Linked DNA regions of Homo sapiens: regions 2, 3, 4, 5, 6 and 7 are each linked to region 1. The links are contacts of gene promoters, found by promoter capture Hi-C in blood cells and fetal thymus (Javierre and others, 2016). All regions are on one chromosome and are shown on one strand. Each heading gives the region's core, a stretch centred on a gene start or on the middle of the fragment in contact. The rest is flanking DNA. Distances are from core to core; before and after follow the strand shown.

Evidence for each region. The method cuts DNA at HindIII sites, captures the fragments that hold promoters and counts their contacts. A CHiCAGO score of 5 or more calls a contact.
Region 2: a fragment that was not itself captured here is called in contact with the fragment with the promoter of MARCHF6 in region 1 in 2 of 17 cell types (total CD4 T cells and total CD8 T cells); the score reaches 10.1 in total CD4 T cells.
Region 3: a fragment that was not itself captured here is called in contact with the fragment with the promoter of MARCHF6 in region 1 in 1 of 17 cell types (non-activated CD4 T cells); the score reaches 5.5 in non-activated CD4 T cells.
Region 4: the fragment with the promoter of MED10 here is called in contact with the fragment with the promoter of MARCHF6 in region 1 in 4 of 17 cell types (non-activated CD4 T cells, activated CD4 T cells, naive CD4 T cells and 1 more); the score reaches 9.6 in non-activated CD4 T cells.
Region 5: a contact is called between a fragment that was not itself captured here and the fragment with the promoter of MARCHF6 in region 1, in 1 of 17 cell types (naive CD8 T cells). The highest score is 8.6, in naive CD8 T cells.
Region 6: a fragment that was not itself captured here is called in contact with the fragment with the promoter of MARCHF6 in region 1 in 1 of 17 cell types (non-activated CD4 T cells); the score reaches 5.3 in non-activated CD4 T cells.
Region 7: a contact is called between a fragment that was not itself captured here and the fragment with the promoter of MARCHF6 in region 1, in 2 of 17 cell types (naive CD8 T cells and non-activated CD4 T cells). The highest score is 14.0, in naive CD8 T cells.

The regions. Positions count from the first base shown.
Region 1 is chr5:10,352,207-10,355,525 of GRCh38, forward strand. It overlaps MARCHF6 (membrane associated ring-CH-type finger 6), which reads left to right and starts at 1,489. Exons shown (of 26, transcript NM_005885.4): 1 at 1,489-1,711. The coding sequence starts at 1,693. It overlaps MARCHF6-DT (MARCHF6 divergent transcript), which reads right to left and starts at 1,851. Exons shown (of 3, transcript NR_183261.1): 1 at 1,766-1,851. RefSeq lists enhancers at 1,048-1,307, 2,154-2,725 and silencers at 1,448-1,587, 1,628-2,097. The HindIII fragment of the contact is 4,878 bases long and covers 1-2,896 here.
Region 2 is chr5:5,522,944-5,525,826 of GRCh38, forward strand. No RefSeq gene overlaps it. Among named protein-coding and RNA genes, the nearest start is that of ICE1, 100 kb to the left of the region's middle. RefSeq lists an enhancer at 286-565. The HindIII fragment of the contact is 249 bases long and covers 1,251-1,499 here.
Region 3 is chr5:6,641,283-6,644,329 of GRCh38, forward strand. The region is part of intron 1 of SRD5A1 (steroid 5 alpha-reductase 1); the gene reads left to right. Among named protein-coding and RNA genes, the nearest start is that of SRD5A1, 9.4 kb to the left of the region's middle. The HindIII fragment of the contact is 4,943 bases long and covers 1-3,047 here.
Region 4 is chr5:6,377,289-6,380,309 of GRCh38, forward strand. MED10 (mediator complex subunit 10) reads right to left here and starts at 1,259. Exons shown (of 4, transcript NM_032286.3): 1 at 1,074-1,259. The coding sequence starts at 1,195. RefSeq lists enhancers at 994-1,203, 1,494-1,713. The HindIII fragment of the contact is 6,030 bases long and covers 1-3,021 here.
Region 5 is chr5:6,620,020-6,623,265 of GRCh38, forward strand. NSUN2 (NOP2/Sun RNA methyltransferase 2) reads right to left here. Exons shown (of 19, transcript NM_017755.6): 5 at 3,195-3,246; 6 at 1,997-2,081; 7 at 87-279. Among named protein-coding and RNA genes, the nearest start is that of NSUN2, 11 kb to the right of the region's middle. The HindIII fragment of the contact is 4,178 bases long and covers 1-3,246 here.
Region 6 is chr5:6,358,572-6,361,637 of GRCh38, forward strand. No RefSeq gene overlaps it. Among named protein-coding and RNA genes, the nearest start is that of MED10, 18 kb to the right of the region's middle. The HindIII fragment of the contact is 1,821 bases long and covers 826-2,646 here.
Region 7 is chr5:5,416,478-5,419,427 of GRCh38, forward strand. The region is part of intron 2 of LOC101929200 (a long non-coding RNA gene); the gene reads right to left. Among named protein-coding and RNA genes, the nearest start is that of ICE1, 4.7 kb to the right of the region's middle. RefSeq lists an enhancer at 2,806-2,875. The HindIII fragment of the contact is 1,560 bases long and covers 916-2,475 here.

The sequences.
Region 1 (3,319 bases), core at 239-2,738:
CAGCAGGCCAATACGTGCTCTGCTACAGGTCTTACAGGGAGGGTGAGCTCTTGGAGTTGGATCAGAAGGAGAGGGGCTGGGGAAAGATCGTCTTCAAATTGTTTCTTTGGCGGTAGTATATATAAACATATTTAGGCAGGGCATAGTGGCACATGTCTGTAACCCCAGCACTTTGGGAGGCCGAAGCGTGAGGATCGCTTAAAGACAGGAGTTGAAAATCATACTGGTCAATATAGTGAGATTGCAGTGAGCCATTATCGCGCCACTGCATTCCTGCCTGGGTGACAGTGCGAGACCCCTTCTCAAAAAAAAAAAAAAAAAAAGAAAGAAAAAAATCATAAGCAAACAACAACAAAAAAACAAATATAAAGAATGGCGGTCTGCTTAATTCTCCGTGCCAGCCCTTGAAATCAGTGGGTATTATTATGTAGAGTTTGAGTTCTTTCCTCCCTTGAGTAACATGAGTGACATCAGTAACATTAGTCAAGCGCTGCTCTTTTTGAAAGACTGTATTTCATTATTTTTATTCTAAACCTTACTCTGTTTGATGAAGATTGGGGGAAGAGCCCTCCCAATTCCACCGCTCACACATAACAGCGGTTGCTAGCATTCTTTATTTGTGCTAGGTCATCTGCATATTGTTTAAACATTTTTCGAGGCTGGAAAGACTGCTCCCACTCAGGCAATTCTGACGTGGCGGCCCTTCTAATTTATATTCTCTAAATAATTCTTCATTTAGAGAAAACAGTCAGGGATTACAGTGAGGGAGGGTGACGTGCTGACGGGGACAGAGCTTGGCTTTTGATCATTCTCCCCTTAGCTCTGCCCAGGCAAGCGTCCCTAACTCAGGGTATCGGAACCGATCTCCCTTAGAGGATTATGTTTCAACCACCAGCCTCAGCGGTTTACTCAAATGTCCTTCCAGCCAAATGCAGAAGTCTCCCTGGGAGTAATTTTGGTGAAGTCAGCTTTTGCCTTTTTCATCACAGGCAGGCTTTAGTAGTTCCTCAAAACGTGCACCACAACTGCCCGGCTGCCAAACAGAAATGCTGATGCCTGGGCCCACTCTAGCCATTTGGCCTCGGCATCACGGTGCGGGAGCGTGGGGCGCAGACTCGCATTGTCACAGGAACCTCCCGGCCTTCCGAAGAGCCCCGCGCCGGGGCCTTTGTCTCGCACGTCGGCTGGGGCGGGAGCTAGGTTCTCGCAGCCTCCTCCCACCGCTCTGCGCCTTCTTTGTCCCTCCAGAAGCCGCCATCAAAGCTCAGCTCCTGATTAGGTTTCGGCCCCGCTGGCCGGCGCAGTCTCGGCGACTACCCCAGGCGGCCTGGCGCACGCGAGGATTCGCCGCGCCCCAGATGCAGGTGCCTCCCCTCCTTAGCCGCCGACCGACAGTGCACGCCGCGGCCGCCGGAAGTGACAGCGCCTGTCGTTGGGGAGCTCCCGCCCCTTCCGCCTCGGCGCCCCGCCCAGGCCTCGCCCCTAGGTGTTCCCGCCCCTCCCCCTCCCGTGTCGCTCGCTTTCTGTCAGCCTCTCTCCCTCTCCCTCTCCCCTCTCCTTCCTCTCGCTTCCTCTCTCGCACCTGAGCGTACGCACCTGCCCGGGCCCGGCTCCCTCCTCCTCTCCCCTCCCTCTTTCCCCGCCCGGCCGCGGGAGCCTCGTGGCTGCGTCACCGCCGCCCCCCCAGACAAGATGGACACCGCGGAGGAAGGTAAGTCGGCGACGCGCGGCGCCCGAGCCCTTGCGTCGGCGCCCGGGTTCGTACCCCGGCCAGGTCCGCGGCGCTCGAGGTGGGCTGCTGGATCGCGGCGGGGCGGACGCCTGGGCCGTTTGTCCACCCGCTGGGCCTCTGGGCCGGGGAGCGGAAGGTGACCCTCTGCGCGCCCCCCGCCGTTTCCCGCCCGCGCCGCCGAGGGGGGCGGGGACCCTGCCGGGCAGGGGCCGGGGCCGGGGTCGGGGCCTCGGGGCTACTGCAGGCCGGCGTGGCCTCCCTTGTCCCCGCCGTCGCGCGCTGGCCCAGAAAAGGGGGCCTCTGTCGCTGCCGTCCGGGGGCGTTTTCCGCACCCTTCCCCCACTGGGTTTTGTCTTTCTTTACGTCCTTCTGCCTATTGCTCGCCAGGCCCTACCCCCTCGCGACAGAACTTCTTTGTTGACTTTGAAACTTCGCGAAAAATACCCCGCCAGATGACGGCCGAGTGGAGTGAGCTGACCCCTGTTGAAAAGCCTGGTCCTCGGCTTGCCTGCCGCTCGAGAATCTGTTTACTAAACGGGGAGGCTCTTTTGTTGCGATCCATTTGGTTTTAAATCCTTGACACCTATAAGCAGGGTTCTGTTTGTTTTGTTTTGCGATTGCTTGTGTTTTGGATACGGTTACATTGAACAAACTGACCCTTGTAAAATGAATACTTAAGATATAAACGTCCACACCTTATGTCTCTTCAAACGCATTTTCTTACCCACTGAAGGTAGTAGATTATTTTTAACCAGCTGTGTTTTTAAATGAGTGGTGAGTTTATAGAGGAAATTACTAAATTTTGCTTTTTTTGATGTTCCGGTTATCGTGCAAATGCTTTTCTACTTTAGGTATATTTATGGGGGTATGAGCGTCTTTCAACCTTATGGGTTGCGATTTTGGCGATTTTAAACGAAAATGAATTATCAAACGCCGTCATGGAGTGCAATAATGAGTGAAAAAAGTTTGATATTATCTATGTAATGAGTTGATAACGACTTATTTTTTTTTAAAGAAGTCTTGCCTTTAATAAATACCTCAACTATAACATGTGGCACTTGATGTACATTCGCGTTCCATCTTCGTAAAAAGCCTGTGGAATAGGTAGGTATTATCTTTTATAGATGTGGAAATGTAGGCTTCGTTATTTTAATAGCTTGTCGAAGCTTTACACAGGTAGTAAGAGGCAGATTTGAACCTAGGCATTCTGATTGCAAGTAATTTCCCTTTCATTATGCCACAGTGTGTTTATTATATACACTGAGTGTAGCTAATCGCCACTGGAGACGCCTTTGGAAAAAATAGTAAAGCGAAACTGCTGAAGGTTGCGAACTATTTCTTTTTGACAGGTGGTCCTTGCGTGTAAATTTCCATCTACATAGGTTTCACATCCTTTTAGATTCAGGTTTTAATGAGTAAATCTAGTAAGGCATGTATTTATCACAGGATAGGTACGGACGTATTACATTCAATTCTCATTCTTTTGGCCTGGGCATTGCTACTTGCATACTTTTATGGTGTGACAGTAATCTGTGGTAATTCAGGAATTGCGCTCGAAGCACGTATGGAATCATGAAATATTTTCAC
Region 2 (2,883 bases), core at 125-2,624, 4.8 Mb before region 1:
ACATTAACTACTTATGTTAAGTCCACTTCTAATATTAAGTTAATCTATATTCATAACCATTCATAACTTTATCTTTTACTTATGTTTTATAAAATATTCTGAATGACATGTTTAATTTTTTATCATGAGTGGACAGGATCATTTCTGTTGGGAGCATTCATTGTGTTTTTTTGAGAGCAATGCTATAAATATTTTTGTCTAGTTCATTTGTTTAACATGATTCTCTGATTACTGGGCACCGACTTGTCCTTCTTCCAACCGTTGGAAAGTTGAGCAGGAATCGCAGCAGCGGTTGTCATAGGTGTTAGAACCAGAGTGACTCCATTTTGGGTGAGGGCTAGGAAATGGAAACTGAGACTCCATTTTGAGTGAGGGCTAGGAAAATGAAACTGCGACTCCATTTTGAGTGAGGGCTGGAAAATGAAACTGAGACTCCATTTTGAGTGAGGGCTGGAAAATGAAACTGGACTTTATTTTGAGTGAGGGCTAGAAAATGAAACTGAGACTTGCTAGGCTGCATTCTCAGAAAGTTAGGCATTCCGAGGCTCTAGATGTTTAAGGTTAAGGGGACAAATTAATAATGTTTACTAAACAAACCCAAACTTGGGAGTGTCCAGATATCCTGATATCTGGACATCAAAGGCATTCCTAATTTTGCTTTAAAGATAAGAGTATTGAATCTTGCAAAATACAGTAGTTAAGAAAATTAATCCTTTATCACAAATCCTTGTAGCAGAGCACACCTCCCCATAGATACAAGCATTGTACCTAGGGTGGATGTGTTCCTCCTCTTACTTTCAGGAACATCCTACTCAATGGAGTAGCTGTCCTTTCACCACTTTACTTTCCTAATAAACTTGCTTTGACTTTGCACTGTGGAATAGCCCTGAATTCTTTCTTGCGTGAGATCCAAGAACCCTCTCTTGGGGTCTGGATCAGAAACCTTTCCTGTAACACGGTTACTGAGGACCTGTGGATGATGTGGACAAATCCTGTTACATTCCCTGCTGCCGCTTTCTCACCTGTTAAGTGGGATTTATAATACCTGTCTTATCTACATCATGAAGTTGTTTTGGGAAAAAGTGAAAAAGTAACGATGTACTTTGACATGCCCAAGCACATTCTGGAATGATTATGATGATACGCTTCTTCTAAGGAGAGAAGTGGCAAACGCACAAGCCCTGTGCTGTGGCTGTGGCTGACCCCATTCTTCACAGTGACCTTCTCCTGGACCTTGATTCAGCCTCAGAAGCTTTCTCAACACAGTACCAAGAGATTAAATTTGGCACAGGATGTAAATTTGCTTTAGAAAGCATGTTTTAGGCGACCCAAGAGATGTTCAATATGATTGAGCTGAAATACTCTATGCAGAGGGTATTTGCAAAAAGTACTGGGTCCCTGGCTTCTTCCCCGCCCTTGCCCACACACGTCTACAAGCACATCTCTGTTCACTCACACAGAGGCCAGTCCCTCAACCTCGCTGTCTGCTTTTTACAAAAAGCTTCCCCTTCTTGCCCTTTCTCCTTGCCCTGAGACCCAACCTTCCCTCTCAGGCTCACTGATGGAGTCCAGAGCACAGACACAGCCTGGGGTCAGAGGGAGCAAGCACAGGTGGCTTCTGAACAAGGTTTCATCTCCTACTCATGCTCCTAGCTGAATCTCCAGAGGAAATGGATTATAAATAAATGTCTGTAAGATTGACTTGCTTGATTACATTTCTCTAATCTGTCATTTTGCTTTTTAAATTAAAATTCTTTTTTTTCCCCCTGAAAACACATTATTACATTTGTGGTTAGGTTGTACATCTTGAAACCCTTTATTCTGCCCCAACCACTACTTGGAAACTTATAATTAAGTAACCTGGCATGCTTTCATAAGAAGTGGAAATTTTCTAAGAACACAATGTGTTGGTGGATGTATCCTGAGAGAGATTTCCTAGTTAAAAAAAAATTAACTCTATAGGCCCTCTGTGACAGAAAGGGGTAGAATTTCTTTCTTTTTTTTTTTTTTTTTTGAGATGGAGTTTCACTCTTGTTGCCCAGGCTGGAGTGCAATGGCGCAATCTTGGCTCACTGCAACCTCCGCCTCCCGGGTTCAAGTGATTCTCCTGCCTCAGCCTCCCGAGTAGCTGGGATTACAGGCATGAGCCACCATGTCTGGCTAATTTTGTGTTTTTAGTAAAGATGGGATTTCTCCATGTTGGCCAGGCTGGTCTCGAACTCCTGACCTCAGGTGATCCACCTGCCTCAGCCTCCCAAACTGCTGGGATTACAGGCATGAGCCACAGCACCTGGCCAGAAAGAGGTAGAAGTTTCAAAACCAAAGAAAAGTTTGTTAAGGAAATTAACACAAGAGTAACATTCTTAAGAGAATGTACTAACACAATGCACTAAGTCATTTGCCATTTGCCCAGTGAAATGAGTTTTTTCTCCTATGTCTTTTCCGATAGTCTTTCTGCTACATCTTTGCCACAGACTGCTGGGCTTTGGAAGCAAATAAGAGAACCTCTGCAAAATTGCTGTAAGCAATTAAGAAGAGACTTCTAATTCTGCTAATGGGAGACTAGATAATGAAGACTAGTCTTCCTACCAGGAACAATTAGAAAAACTGAACACAACATAAAGAAAAAAAAAAAAAGCTCATCTATCTGTTTAAAACTTTGGAGAACTTCCAAGACAGCAAGAACTCGAAGGCCAACTGATGTGGTTTGGTGCTGTGTCCCCACCTAAATCTCACTTTGAATTGTAGTTCCCATAATCCCCATGTGTCATGGGAGGCACCCAGTGGGAGGTAATTTAATCATGGGGGCAGTTACCCTCATGCATTCTCATGATAGTGAGTGAGTTCTCATGAGATCTGATGGTTTTATAAGGAGCTTCTCCC
Region 3 (3,047 bases), core at 277-2,776, 3.7 Mb before region 1:
CCCACCCCACGCGAGTTCCAAATTGGCCACAGTCAAAGGAAAATCTTCACCGACAACAATGGATTTCCAAGGAAGTAAACTGAGTAAAGCTAAAGGGAATGGCCCGCAAGAAGAAAAGCCTTCCAGGAGATGCTGAGAGGGGCAGAGCGCTTCCTTGGAGCGGAGTGCTAGGTCCAAGTCAGAGCTCTCTAGAGGGAGGGAAGTCAGGAAGAAGATCTCACCTTCTCCTAGCAACTGGAGGCAGAGGCAGCACTCCCCTCCTCTCCCCTGTCCACCACTCTGTTGACTTCAGCGGTTTTATGACAGGCCTATAGGCATCAGGGTTACTGGTGTCCCCTTCCAGGGCAGGAATCAGAGAACACCAGAAGAGACTGGTGTCGATCTTTGTAAGGCTCGGTTTCCAGTCCTTGCAGTTCTCAGACATTCACATGAGACAAAAAAGAGGGACAAATCTTATCCTGAGGTTCTTTGTGAATGTCTTATCCAGGGCATGTGCTAGAGCAGAAGTCATTCAAAAATGCAGCTACGCAGAAGCACGTCCTCACTCCCAGAGCACAGCCAAACCTAGACCGCAGCAGCTGCAGCCATGTAGCACCAGTGCCCTGAGCAAGTTGATGTCAAGTTGATGTCTCCAAAATATAACACACTTGTGCTAATTCAGACTAATTGTCAGCAGGCTTTTCTGGAAAGAGCCAGGTAGTGCATATCTTAGGCTTTGTGGGCCAAGATACTGGGTAGGTATTTACGATGAGAGAAAACACATTTTCACAAAAGTTTCAGTGGTAAATTCAAAATATATTATCTTAGTGCATTTTTTGTAATATATGTCTAATGAGAAGAATAGAATTCTTTTCTTGGTGAGGGATAACATTTCACTTATTGGGATTCAAAGTTAGTGTTTCCTATTATCAACATCTATTGTAAATGTTCCTCTCAGTGTTGATCTGTCATGAGATTTTACGTATTTTATCTCTATAAATGGAAGCGTTGACATCAGTCCACATGTATATGATTTTAATTGAGCATGATCATCACTTGGAAGGCACTCATGGAATCCTGTTAGATTCTTCTCTTGATCTTTGCCTTTCCATATGGTATTACATTACAGATTCATATCTTCCTATGGAAGATTAGATGGCAACTCTTCCACTGCACAGCTAAATGGATTTTGAAATATGGAAATCCAGGTTCACACACTGTATTTAAACTTAGAATTTATATCCACTGCAAACTCATGTGAGCATGGAGAGCTCACTTCTTTTAATTTTAATAGCATGGAAAGTACAGAACGCAGTTTGATATGACTTGTGATTGGAACAATGGCAGTTGTCATCAAAATGACTTTAACACAGTATGAGTTTTGCACAAGTGCTGTTTTGCCTTGCAGCTTTAGGTTGAATTTATTATCAAGTCTGCAGTAAAAGCTACTTAAGCCCTTCAGAACTCAATAATGGTGGTGAGGGCAGTTCTTGCTCAGAAAAGTTTCAGTCTCAGCTCTGAGCTCAAAATAATGTGATGAAACTTTATTAAGCCATCAAACTGGTGTATTTATGTGGGACAAATCGGCATAGTCAGCTTATTTGTGACAAAAAGTTAGAGAACTGATGATAGTTGAGTCCATGAGAGGGATTGTCATTCACTGTTGACACTATGGGCTTAATCACACACAACAGATTTTCTGCAAAAGACCTGCTGATACAAGGAATAGCATGAAACACCTTACATTTTTACAAGTTTGTAAGTTTGTAATTTGTTTTTTTTTTGTCCCATACATTTTTATCACCATCATTTGCAACAGCTTAGCAGATTCCACTTTGGATTCTACTAAATTCGTGTTTTCTCAACATCTTTGAAAATATTCTCACCGGTAGTTGTTCTGCACAGACTATCTAAAGAGCCTAACCCTTCATTCACTTCAGCCTTGATGTGAACTCCTCAAATAAACAACTGAGCCATATCAGTAACATCCATAGACTCACCCAGAGCCGACAAAGACTGCTCATCATCTGCCTTGCTTTTTCTTTTTTAATTATTATTTTGAGACAGGATCTCACTCTGTCACCCAAGCTGGAGTGCAGTGGCATGATCCTCAGCTTATTGCAGCCTCCACCTCCCAGGCTCTGATGATCCTCCCACCTCAGTCTCCCAAGTAGCTGGGACTACAGGCATGTACCACCACACCCAGCTAATTTTCATATTTTTTGTAGAGAGGGGGTTTCGCCATGTTGCCCAGGCTAGTCACAGCCATCTACCTGCCTTGGCCTCCCGAAGTGCTGGGATTACAGGCATGAGCCACTGCATCTGGTCCTGCCTTGCTTAAATAGACTGTTGAGGGTGCTCCCAGTGTCCTTAACTCCTCTAGCAAGTGTTCTCCCCAAAAGGCTAATTGTGAGAAACAAGTGTGTATTCTCTGGACACGCCTCTTTGGTTGCTGCTGTTGATTAACTCACCGTTGATGCACAGCTTTCCTTGCTTCACTAACCAATGAGCCGCCCGATAACCTACTTTGGTTGCAGCCTCATTTTCCTTTGTTTTGTGAAGAAATCCTGCTGCCTTGGCCTCTGTGCCTTAAATGTTCTAGTTTTTCTGACCAGTGCTTTTCTGTGAGTTGGGAATAGGCTGGTGAGTGCAGAGTCTGATAATATTATCCTCTATTATATTCTTTTGACACAGTTCTAGTGTCATTGCCAGCTGACGTTTTTCAGGTCAGAATTCAACCCACAACTTAGAAGAAAATTGGGAGAAATGGATCAAGGTTCGCTGGATGTGATTCTGATATGCCAGAGGGAACGTCCACCACATACGCAGAATGTTTCCTGGGAGTTGCTTCTCTCACACTGCATTTGTCCATTGTTTAAATGGGTGACATCCAATGCAGAAGTGTCTTAAGCCATTTTCAATTCTGTGTATTTCAACCTTGCTAATATTTTCCCTTCCTCTTTTTCACCTTGCCTTCCTGTTATCCAGTATTGAATTTAGGATGGATTTTTTTCAGGTCCAGAGGCCCGACCTCTTATGAACTGAGTCCTTTCTATTTTAATAGACAT
Region 4 (3,021 bases), core at 9-2,508, 4.0 Mb before region 1:
GCTTGACAGCATAAGCACCACCCACAGAGCTACCCAGCCAACCGGGGCTCCACGCAAGTTCGTTCTCCTCACAGCTATGCGGGTTACACACGGTTCTGACCTCTTTGGTTAGCTACAGGATTCCTAGGACACCGTTAGAGTTACAAAATACCCTTAAATATTTGTTACTTTCCTTCTCAACTAGAAATTGCCAGTAAGGGGGATGGAGAGGGAACCTGATGAAAAATATGAACCTTCTCTCAAAAACAATTACCTGACTGTGCATATGACTGTGTGTGCGGTTTCAGCGAACACATGAGGCAGCGGACTATACTCAAAGTCTGAGGGAAAGAAAGCCATACTGTCTGGTTTAGCTTCCTCTCCTCTCTGGAGCCTTCCTACAGCATCAGGCTGGTCTGGCTATTCCCACAGCACTAGGTATGGAACCTCGAGTGCAACATTTTCTATGTCCGTGCCACATATAAAGCCCTTCTCGAAAGTGCTGTACTTGCATTTGCCTTTTCTCCAACCCAGGGCCTAGCAACATGGGCAGCACAAGGCTGTTGCCAAGAAATAATAATAATAAACGTTCTGCAACCTTTCTCAGCACCACCTCCCCGCTATTTCCTCCACTGTCAGGCCTATGCGGCAGGTGGCTTCGGAGCCTCACCTTCTGAGGCCTAGTTTAGGGCGTGCACTCACTGTGGAGCCTGCCTCCCCTCTGGAGACAGGGACTGAATTCCCAGAAGGGCTCCAGGAGGAAAAGGCTGGGAGGGGGTTACACATGAGAGGGGAGACGCTAGAAGAGAAAGCATGATTCCCTTGATAGGGAAACGTAAAGTATATCATCTGGCCATGACGACGTCTCCAAAGGGGCCTCAAAGAGGTTGGCTCTTGGCAACAGGCTGGAGCGCGGGCCCCGCCCTCTGAACACAGCCAGGAAAGGCGCCCCGGGCTCCGGGACCAGACCAGAGGGCTGGCGGGGCACGAGTAGCGGTCAGGCTCGGCTCGGGCTCCCTAGATCCCCGCTCCCCTAGCACACGCTTCCCGGCCAGGCCCTGGGGAGACCCCGGCAGCCTCGGGCCGCCACTCACAGCTTTTGGTTGAGCCCGGCCTGGCTGCTGGGCTGGAAGTCACTGACGATGATGCCGAGCTGCCGAATGTTCTCCACGAACTTCTCCAGGTGCTCCTCTAGGTGGTCAAACTTCTCCGCCATCGCCTCGGCCCGTCCCCGACCCACACAGCCTCAACCAGCAGCGCCGCAGGCGTGGCCCTACGCTCCCGCTTCCTGCTTCCGTCCGGACAGATACGACTTCCGTTTCCTCTGGGGGAGCGCGGGCGAGCTCTTGGGGGCGGAGCCTCGTTATCGGGACGGGCGTGTTGGGGCGGGGCCTAAGTGCGGGGCAGGGCGGGCTTTCGGGGATGCGGTCTGGATTCTGGAGGAGGCCTCGGCGCGCAGCTGGGCGAGTACTAACTGTTTGCACTCTCATCAGACCTGCCTCGGTCATGGGAGAAGTTGAAGACTTTCTGCAATGCAGCATCTTCAAGCAATACACACATGGATGAAAATCCTAAAGTTTGCATGAAGGACCAATAACGGTAGTTTCCCTGCCCCTCTACCAGAACCCCTGGGATCAGCGCCTGCCTGCCTCCTTTCTTCTATGTAATCGGCGGCCACCTCCCCTAGCTCTTGCTGCTAACCATGCTTCCCGGACACCTGCTGCCTTCGTAGGTCAGGGTCTCACCTCCTCGGGCCAATTCTGACCAAACAGCACCCTGTGGGGTTGCCCTGTCTTAGTAAACTGCTGTTTATCTCATTGAAATTCAGTTTAGGTCATTTCACTCTTATGTTTAAGAAACTTTTCTGCCCGATCTCCTATGATAGCGGATATCTCCTCTAGCCTGTTTGAATTTCTCAAGTGATTTATTTTACTGAATATATTTGTGGCCTGTACTTTTCAGTGCCTAGAAACAGGCAAAGTGAGGGAGCTCCTTTGCTAGATGATCTTCAGAGCCTCTCCCAGCTGTGACCAGAAATGGAAAGCCAGAGAAGGTAAGTGACTTGCCAAACTTATGGAATCAGGGCACTCCAGTTGGTGGGCTGGGCTGATAAACAGAAATGTTACATAAAATACTTCTCTCCTGATTTAACAACAATTAACTTTAGGGAATTATAAAACAAGATGGAGGCTGGGCGTGGTGGCTCAGGCCTGTAATCCCAGAACTTTGGAAGGCCAAGGCAGGTGGATTACCTGAGGTGAGGAGTTCGAGACCGACCTGACCAATATGGAGAAACCCTGTCTCTACTAAAAATACAAAAATTAGTCAGACATGGTGGTGTGCGCCTGTAGTCCCAGCTACTTGGGAGGCTGAGACAGGAGAATTGCTTGAACCCAGGAGGCAGAGGTTGCAGTAAGCCGAGATCATGCCACTGCACTCCAGCCTGGGCAACAGAGCAAGACTCAAAAAAAAAAAAAAAAGGTGGAAATAAAATATTAGACAAATAAAAAATTTTAAGTTATTAGGTAGAGGTAGCGACATGGAGTGAACGGCCTTTCTCAATTTCATAAGTAAGAAAGATAGATAATTGATGGAACTTAGGCTTTGGTAAGTATTTATTTTAAAAATTTAAGGGTATCTCTTTGCTAGTATATATAATTCCCAAACTAGTAGACAGGGGGAAGGGAATAAAGAAAACACAATCAACTCAATAGAAGGCAAGAAAAGAAGAGAATAAAGAAGCAAAGAACAAGCATGGAAAATAAAACTCACAACGTAAAGTGCAAAAATTAAAGGCACACGACTCAACAGCAAAAAAGCAAAAGAAGAAATTTATAAATGGGCAAAGGACCTGAACAGATACTTCTCAAAAGAAGACATAAAAATGACCAGCAAAAATGCTCAGCATCACATATCATCAGGGAAATACAAATTAAAAGCATAATGAGATGTCACCTTACACTGTTAGAAGGGCTATAATCAAAAAGACCAAAGACAATGGGTGTGGGTGAAAATGTGGAGGAAAGGGAACCCTTGTACACT
Region 5 (3,246 bases), core at 179-2,678, 3.7 Mb before region 1:
TCATATTCATGCACAACTTCATTTTAGTCTCTATTTGACTTGATTTCTTTAGTGGATTTGGGCTTTTTGGCCAATAAGATAAATACCTGCAAGGGACATCACATAAAATTCGATCATAGAAGAGGATCTCTTTCCTGCCGTCCACATCTATCTGGAGCCTGGGTATGCTGGAGGCATCATGGTTGACCACCATGATGCAGGGGCTGCTCAGCCTCTTGGCTTGATGGACGAGCAGGTAGCAGCGCTTGTTGTCCACATCATTCGCAATAACAAATCCCTCTGAAGGCACAGAATTGCAGTGTCAGGTGAAATGGAGCCTAAGTGGAATCACATCCTGAAATATGCGACCTCCAAAGGTCAGCCAGTGAGAAGCAGCAATCCACCAAACTTAAGACCCACAGTCAAGGTTTTCCAGAATTACGTTAAGTGGTTCAAAAAAAGGAACCAGGTGGCTCTGGATGGATTTTATGGACACTCGAATTTTGAAAGCCTCAAAAGTCATCTATTCAACAATTATTCACTTTGTGCCAATTACCATGCCAAAAATGTCTTTTCTGTTATTAGTAACGATTAACTACAAAAAAAAAAGATGAGGAGAAAGGTGTAGAAACAACAAAATCACCTTACAAATGTTTCAAAATCCTGAACACAAGCCGGGACCCTGCTCTGACTGTGAGTCAGGCTCCTAGGGTGGGGCCCCAAGCACCTGAACACGGAAGCTCTTCCCGGGAGGCTCTGCAGGCTGGGAAGTCTACTGGGTGTACCTCTGCTCATCTCTGGTTCTTCTCACACCCCCAGCAAAAAGGCAAATATACCAACAACATGTATGATCAAAGCCACTCTTCACAACAGTATGAAATGCAAAACATCCACAATACAAAAAGGAGAACCTGCTGCTACTGGGACGCCAAGGCTCTTTACTGCCAATGTGGAGAAAACAACTAAAAACAGGGAAAAGTGAAGCAGGCTTTTTAGCCAAGGCATTATCTTTAAACAATGTAAAAAAGAGGATTTCAAAAAACAGACCTAACAAATATGCCTATTAAAACAGAACTAGAGAAGTTTGCCTGAACAAAGATAGGACGAGATGAAAGCTGACTCTAAAACATCACGATGGGTATTTGTTTCCACTTAAGAGAAAGGGGCGTGGTGTCACTATAACAGCTAACATTTCCTGAGCACCTCGCAAGCTACATACTGATTCGTCCCATTTCACATGGGATGTCTAACACTGTAAGTAACTTGCCGATTAGGATTTGAACCCAGGGAGTCTGATGGTAGCTTTTAACTACACACTACTACCCTTCATGTAAGGCAGTAAGTAATAATAATAATAATAATAGTAATAATAATGAACAAAGGTGGGGGAAAGGGGAAATTGTTACTAAAAATTCAAACAGTGAAATCTATCTTCTGTAAGTAGGCTTGATAAAGAAACACCATCTGCAGCCGGGCGTGGTGGCTCACACCTGTAATCCCAGCACTTTGGGAGGCCAAGGCGGGCGGATCACGAGGTCAGGAGATCGAGACCATCCTGGCTAACATGGTGAAACCCCGTCTCTACTAAAAATACAAAAAATTACCCGGGCATGGTGGCGGGCACCTGTAGTCCCAGCTACTCGAGAGGCTGAGGCAGGAGAATGGCGTGAACCCAGGAGGTGGAACTTGCAGTGAGCCAACATCACGCCACTGCACTCCAGCCTGGGCAACAGAGTGAGACTCCATCTCAAAAAAAAAAAAAAGAAATGCCATTCGTTTTTATAGAAAACACACATAATTCTAAAATAAAGCTCCCCCATGGTATGAGTGTGTTTGTTTGAGTACTACTGACGGTGGTAGGCAAGATGTCCAGTTCTACTTCCGGTAGACGGAAAACCCAACTGCTTGTCATAGGAGACTTTAGAGCCAAATTAGCAGGCAAAGTTAGAGTCTTTTCCTTGTCTACAATCTGCCAAAGTGGCATTCCTACCATTTTGAACACAAGTCCAATGCATACCTGGAAAGGGGACATTCATGTCGGCATGTAGCATTTCAATTAACTGTGTGGTCTTTGAGCCAGGTGCTGCACACATATCTAAGATCTATTAACAAAGCAAGAAACTGTTTCATGTTTTTAAAAAACCAAATATTCTACATTTAATTTAAAGCAATTCTAGTTTTTCAATTTCTAGTCCAAGATCTAAATATACTTCTTTACAGAGTCTATAGCATGACATAATTTACTTTTAGGGATTCTACACTGCCCCAAAATCACAGAATGATATAGGTACAGTCTCCAAAGAGGATGGGAGGAGAATGAAACTGTAAGCCAGAGAGACTAAATATAGAGATGAACAAGTAAGAATCATGAAAACATAATGCTAAGGAACAGAGCTACCTAGACTCAAATCTCAGCTCAGCCAGTTAACAGCTCCGTAACCTCAGTTCAAGTACTTCTCCTTGCTTCCTTTTCCTCATCTGGAAAAATGGAGATGGTGACAGTATCTGCCCTTAGAGGGTTGTGTGAATGATAAAGCCAACTAATTCACCTAAAAAACACAGAGCAAGGCCAGGCACAGTGGCTCACACCTGTAATCCCAGCACTTTGGAAGGCCAAGGCAGGCGGATCGCCTGAGGTCGGGAGTTCGAGACCAGCCTGACCAACATGGAGAAACCCCGTCTCTACTAAAAATACAAAATTAGCAGGGTGTGGTGGTGCGCACCTGTAATCCCGGCTACTTGGGAGACTGAGGCAGGAGAATTGCCTGAACTCAGGAGGCGGAGGTTGCAGTGAGCCAAGATCGCGCCACTGCACTCCAGCCTGGACAACAAGAGTGAAACTCCATCTCAAAAAAAAAAAAAAGAAAAGAAAAAAGAGCACAGAGTAATGCTTGCCATACAATGAGCTCTCAATACATGTTCACTATCATTTTCAACCTAATTTAGCCAATCACCATCACTGAAGACAATCCATATGGTAAACAAATCAGTAAAACTAAAGGGGAGAAAATTTTCTAAACCATAAAAATTAAGTAGGACAAAAAAGAAAAAAAAAAAAAAAAGAAACTAAGATACGTACATATCACTCTCTATCCAAAGTGAAAAGAAGAAAAAAAGGACTAATTATATTAAGAAAAAATGGTTTCATCAAAACAAACAGGCATGACACTGGTAACAAGCTGCCCGCCCCCACGTTTCTAGTTGCTATATGCTACCTTATGATGAGGCCGCACGTTGAGGAGCAGTGGTGGGATCATGCTAACAGCT
Region 6 (3,066 bases), core at 486-2,985, 4.0 Mb before region 1:
GGGTCAGAGGGGACCAGTCTCTGGTTTCCTGAGCTCCCTGCAGCCATGGCTCCAAGCTCCGCACCGCACAGGTGATCCCACCCATCCTGGGCCCCAGTTTGGAGAAACTGTCACAACCATTGAGGAGAATTAGGAGAGACACAATAAGCATGCCTATGAGTGTGGCATACATAAAAAGTCTAGAAGGACACTCAATAAACTCAATAAACAGCCTTAGTGGTCGATCTCTGCAGAGGGGGCCAGAGAGCTGGGAGCTCAGAAACATGATGAACCAAAGCAGACACTTCCCCGTGCCATTTCTGGGAGGGCTGATTGGTGACACTTTTTTGGGTCACAGTTTGGTAATAATTAGCAACATTTAAGTACACATAATTCCATCTTAAGAAATTAATCCCAAGGGACTCCACAGATGCCAGTCCAGGACAATGAACAATGGCATACCCCATGGCACTGCTGGCATCCTAGAGTCTAAGCACATTGCGGCTCCTCCATGCCATGGGCACCACCGACGGGCCTGCCAGCCTGCCCCTGCTGACAAAGATTTGCAAAGGTATTTCAAACGAAAAAAGCAAAACCCTGAAGGGTGTGTATAATGCGATCCTCTATGTATTTTTCTAAGCACAAACCTGAATATTACGCGTAGAGGGCATCTGGTCTGCCTGGGAGGATGTCCATGGTTAAAAACACTGAGGCTGGGTCTGGAAGCTCTGCACCATTCACATTTTTCACCATGAAAAACAAGTGTGCGAAACAGCAGTGTTAAGTACGCTATCTGCTTTTGCTCGCTGCACAAAAATAACATTTGTACAAACAAAAGACTATTTAAGCTTAACAAGAGCAGCAATAAAAAACAGGTCCAAATCGATCCTGTGTATGCCCAGTTTCTGTAATGGAGGGCTCTGTGCTGAGTAAGCTCTCTGGTTTCACACTGTGCACAGTTAATAAATGGTTATTAATAATAGCAATGATAATGGCCTCCACGTGCTACTGAAATGCAATTAGTTTCACAGTGGAGCATGCTACACATCTGAGGATGAACATTCAATTTTCACTCACATCCCAAACTTTTAAGTGGTCAGACCAACAGTTTGCATAAAAGGCCCTCCTGTGTGTTGCACTGTGTCTTAATTTCATAACTCGACCGCACCCCGGGCCCCAGCTGCTGCTTTTGATTAAATCAGTGGACGACTGTATTAACATCCCTTTGGGACTCTGACACTCCAGGCTGCATGTGGCTGCAAATTAATAAATGCTGGGGCACAAAGAGACTGCCCAGAGGGCACCTTAAAATACGTGCCTCTTCCCCTAACATATCTTGGGAGAAAAAGAAGCGTCCCTGGAGGGTTGATGGGGTGGACACGCAGAGTGAGCACGGGAGCGCAGGCAGGGAAGGGACCATCTCTTCCTCATCAGCAGCCCCTCTGCAGGCAGGTGGCTGAGAAAGGCACAGGAAAAGGGCTCAGGGCGTTTTCAAGAGGAAGGCTGGGCAGGAAGGAGAGGGGAGAGAGCTGGAAGGAGGAGGCAGGATGTGGCAGGCCCTGGGGCCGTCTTTGCATCGAGCCACCTCCCCCAACCTTGAGAAGAGGAACAGGAGGTTAGGAACAGATGATGGCCCATGAAAAGGTGAAAATAAACTAGCTGTGATGCGTTAAAGAGGGTGACGCCTACGAGTCCTGCAGCCACTGCAGGCAGAGGAGGCCCTGCTTCCCTGACCCATCTGCCTGCGGCTGCAGGTGGCACCTCACAGTGGCTGTGCCTCCCAGGACTCCAGCTTGAGACTCGGGAATCCTCCCACCTGGAGAATCGGGAAGACTCCTGCTTGCTTTTCCAGTCGGATTATTTACCTCGGTCCCGCCAGCATCTATGCCCTGACTTGAGACTACTCTAGGCAGAGGCGAAGGTGAGGCCAGCCAGGGAGGCAGCAGCCGTGGATGTGGGCAGGGCCATGGACGGACAAAGCAGCTCCTCTGCAGCTCCCGGACGCAACCTCTGGTGAGCACTGTCACCAACCATGCCATTCCTCAGCACTCCCAGAGGGAGCCTGCAGACAGCCCCGCGTGGATGGCTGCTGCTTCTTATTCCAAACTCTGTCTAGACTGAGGCGCAGTGCTGGGCCTTGCGCTCATCAGATAAACTAAACTTGAAAACTCACAATGACGCATCCGGGGTTTAAATTTACTTACATGAAATTCAATTTTTAGCCTTAAGTCACTCCTACAAAGTAAGTTTCTACAGGAAAGGGCCAACATGAGCACCCAGTGAATGGAAATCCAGGCCATCCTCATCCTGAAGGTGCCAGAGCAGGCCCCGCCGGCTGCCTGAGAGCTCCCATTCCTTGTCAGTCCCCTCTGCCCCTGCCTGCCTCAGTTCTCTGCCCCTGCCTGCCTCTGTTCTCTGCCCCTGCCTGCCTCAGTTCTCTGCCCCTGCCTGCCTCTGTTCTCTGCCCCTGCCTGCCTCAGTTCTCTGCCCCTGCCTGCCTCTGTTCTCTGCCCCTGCCTGCCTCTGTTCTAAGGACTGTAAGAGCTAAACCTAAGATCACTCGACTCCCTCGTAATCGGGGGCGGGGGGCCATGCGACAGTGTTCTTGTCCATGAGATGTGAGCAGAAGTCCATGAGAAAGACAGCCCTTCCAGAATAAAATGGCAAAGCTTCCACAGGAGAAATCTTTTTGCCCGTCGGCCTTTGCCCTCCCTCTATGTTATTCCTGCCTGGAATGCAAACGTGATGCCTGGAGGTGCAGCAGCCATCTTGTAATGTGAGGACAGAACCCATGCTGAGGATGGCAGAGCAGACAGGTGAGCCTGGGTCCTGGCTGATGCCTGTGAGGAGCTACTGCTGTCTGGGCAGACAGCTTAGCATTGCTGTTGCAGGAGAAAAATTAATTTCTATCTTTGCATCTCATTCTTAGCTGAACCTTTCCTAATTTGCAGCAAACCTACATGAAACAGTAAAGGACAATCACAGTTAAAATAAATACAACACATATGTGTAAATATACGTTTATAATTATTTTTGGTGCATATTTAAATTAAGGGAGAGAAGTTACGTAAAATTATTTTCAAAATT
Region 7 (2,950 bases), core at 446-2,945, 4.9 Mb before region 1:
CGGTCCTAGCAAGTGGGAGAACAGGGGCACATGCAGGCATCGTGCTGCAGGGAGATGCTCCTCGCAGGACCCAGGACAGAACCGGCTGCCAGGGATGGCAGCGACCATGATGGCTGTGGTGGGACAGGCAGACAGCTATCTTACCAACAGAACTCATGCTGCTTATATGTGGCGAGGAGACAAAGGAAAAAAAGGGAAGGACCAAGAATGATACCAAAAAAAAAAACCAAAAAAGTTTGATATTCAAAACTCTATCAAGGACATTTCCCATAGAAACTGGACTTGAATGGACCTTAGAGAACTGGTTGGATTTACTGCCTAGGATGGAAGGGGGTGCCACTTGCACGCCAAGCCCAATATTGCAGAGGGGCTGATTGGAGCTGTGCACTGTGAAGGATGAGAGCTGGGCACACACAACAACTGAGGAATTCATTGGGAGGTGAGTCAGAAGGAGGAGGAGGATGAAGAGGAAGAGGAGGAGGAGGGTGAGGAGGAGGGAGAGGGGAAGGAGGACGGGGAGGGAGGGGGAAGGAGGGGGAGGAGGAGGAGGAGGAGAAGGGGCTGCACATGCCTCAGCAAGGGCAGTACTGAGCAGAAGATGATCATAAAGTCACTTCCTCCATGTCTTGGTTTTTAAATCATTGCTGTCTGTGGGATTTGTCCTCTGGGCTCCTTCTTACCCCAGATGCAGTCTTGGGCACACACCCTAGCCTTTCCAGTCACTCGGAGACAACACAGTCCAGTGTGATGTGCTGTCACTTATTTCCTGTCTTCAACTTAGCTTCTTACCCATGGAGCTGGTGGCCGTTCTTAGACGCTAGCAAGATGGGTGTGGGTGGGTGGGAATGGGGCAAGACAGGCTTTTCCTCTGTTCCAACATTTTCCTTATTCACCAGCTTGTTTGTGACCCCTCCAAGCTTGGGGTAGGAGAAGGGATCAGGAGAAAAAGATGCAGTCTTTGTAACCTGGCTTCCCAAAGTGCTTGAGTCATAGTCCAAGAACAAAGAACAGGCTGGTGGGGTGGGCTTCTCTCCTGCAGCGAGCTCCTTGGGACGGAAGAGCATCTTCCGCACAGGACTGGGGCAGAGCTCAGCCAGGAGACCCACATTACACCCAGATTATTTTAAGAGAGAAAAGGTAAAAGCAAAACACTAAAATATCACAGGAGGAGCCACCGCAAGAAGCAGCTGACACCTTGGGCTGGAGAGAATAAAAGAAGGAGGAAGGAGTGAGCAAAACTCAGAAATGTGGAGGAGCTGCCACCCAGAAATCACACTCAGACATATGAAGAAGGGACCTTCTGGGCTGGTGCTGAGGCCTCTGCTCTTGGACTCAGGGCTCTGTGGAGCTGGGAAACCAACTTTGCTGGTATCTCCGAGGGGATGCTATGAGGCTGGCTCTGCGTGTGTCAGAGAAACTGCAGACCCAATTCGTATGCCGCTCTGTTCATGAACTGCCACTGCCAGGTGCGAAAGCAAGGATAGCAAGACGCTAGCAGGACCAGGAGTCGGACAGGACAGAATGGGAGGCACAGGCCCCTCTCCTACCTCTTATCTTCTGGTTTCCTTGTGTATATCTGTTGGCACAGCTGAACAGAACTCTGGCAGGAGAGGTGGCACGTGGCTCCCCAGTCCCTACGTCACAAGGCAGAGTATAAAAGGGAAGGTGTGGGGCCGAGAGACAGTAACTTAACCACCAGCTCAGGGTCCTGGGATTCATCCCTCTTCCAGTCAGCAGGAAGTGACAAAGAGCACAGGAAGGCCCTAGGGGCCAGGCCCCTTTTGCTGATGTTTGGCTGGTAGAACTTAATCACATGTCAGGTGCAGGGAGGCTGGGGAATAACTAGACAGAATAGAAACAAGTTTTGGTGAGTGGCTGCCACTGGTGCTGTGTGGATACAGTTCAAAGTGAGGACTTTCCAGCTGTGGACATCCAGCTACAGTTCTTTGAATGGGGGATGGAAGAGCAAAGTTTTATTTCTGGCTGCTCACTTTGCCTCAGCCTCGCTTTCCTCGCAGCTCCCACTGAAATGCCCACCGTATCCAGTATGCAGAACTCCTGCTCATCCCAGTGCGGGTGAGCATGCGGCTCAGTCACCTCCAACCCATCTCCTGGAGCTGTCCCACGGTTCCCTTGGAACCACTCTAGGGCATGTAGCATCTGACTCTGAGTGCTTCACTTCGTGGGGGCACTGATTAAAACAAAGCTCTGGAATATAGCATCATCGAGAGGCAACTGTTGATTTAATTTATTAACATATACATCCACTGAAATGGCTGCTAGATGTGGTCTAGAAACCAAGGAGACCCCCCACTGGCCTCAGGTGAAGGGGAAACATGTCCCTCCCTTTCCTATCCCTCCTCAGAGTTAGGTGGGACATGCCCTTGCCAGCTGCTCTACAGAGAATCCCCTCCTCAACACCTGTCACCTCTGAGCACCTGCCGCCTTCTTCCTCCGATCCCGGAAGCTACAAGAAGCTTCTCGTGTGACCAACTCTTACAGCCGCCAGGTGTTCACAAACCCGCAAGGCAGAGTGGGCTTGTCCTCCTTTACAGAGGGCGACTGCAATGTGAGAGTTGTGAAAGTCCTTTCAAATGTTGCTTTTTTTTTTTTTACTTTTCTCAATCAGCTTTCTCAGGTTGAAGAAAATTTTGCTTAATAATCATATCAGTTTTGCTTTCTATTTCAAACTAATTGTTTCAAAACTAAATTTTATTTGTCCGGTTTCTAAGTAACATCAGTGTTTCAGGAAGAAGCAACATGTTTACTCTCTGGCTTCAAATCACTTTGAGGGTAAGAGCTGAGGCTGTGAGCAAATTGCTGATGTCTGAGGACAAGTCGAAACCCCACCACTATAACCCTGAGTGTTGAGAAAAACTGGAGCAAAGACAGCTTAGGACTAAGCCTGGTGGAACGTGTGTGGGCGGATAGCAAAGTGGTTCCCACAAGA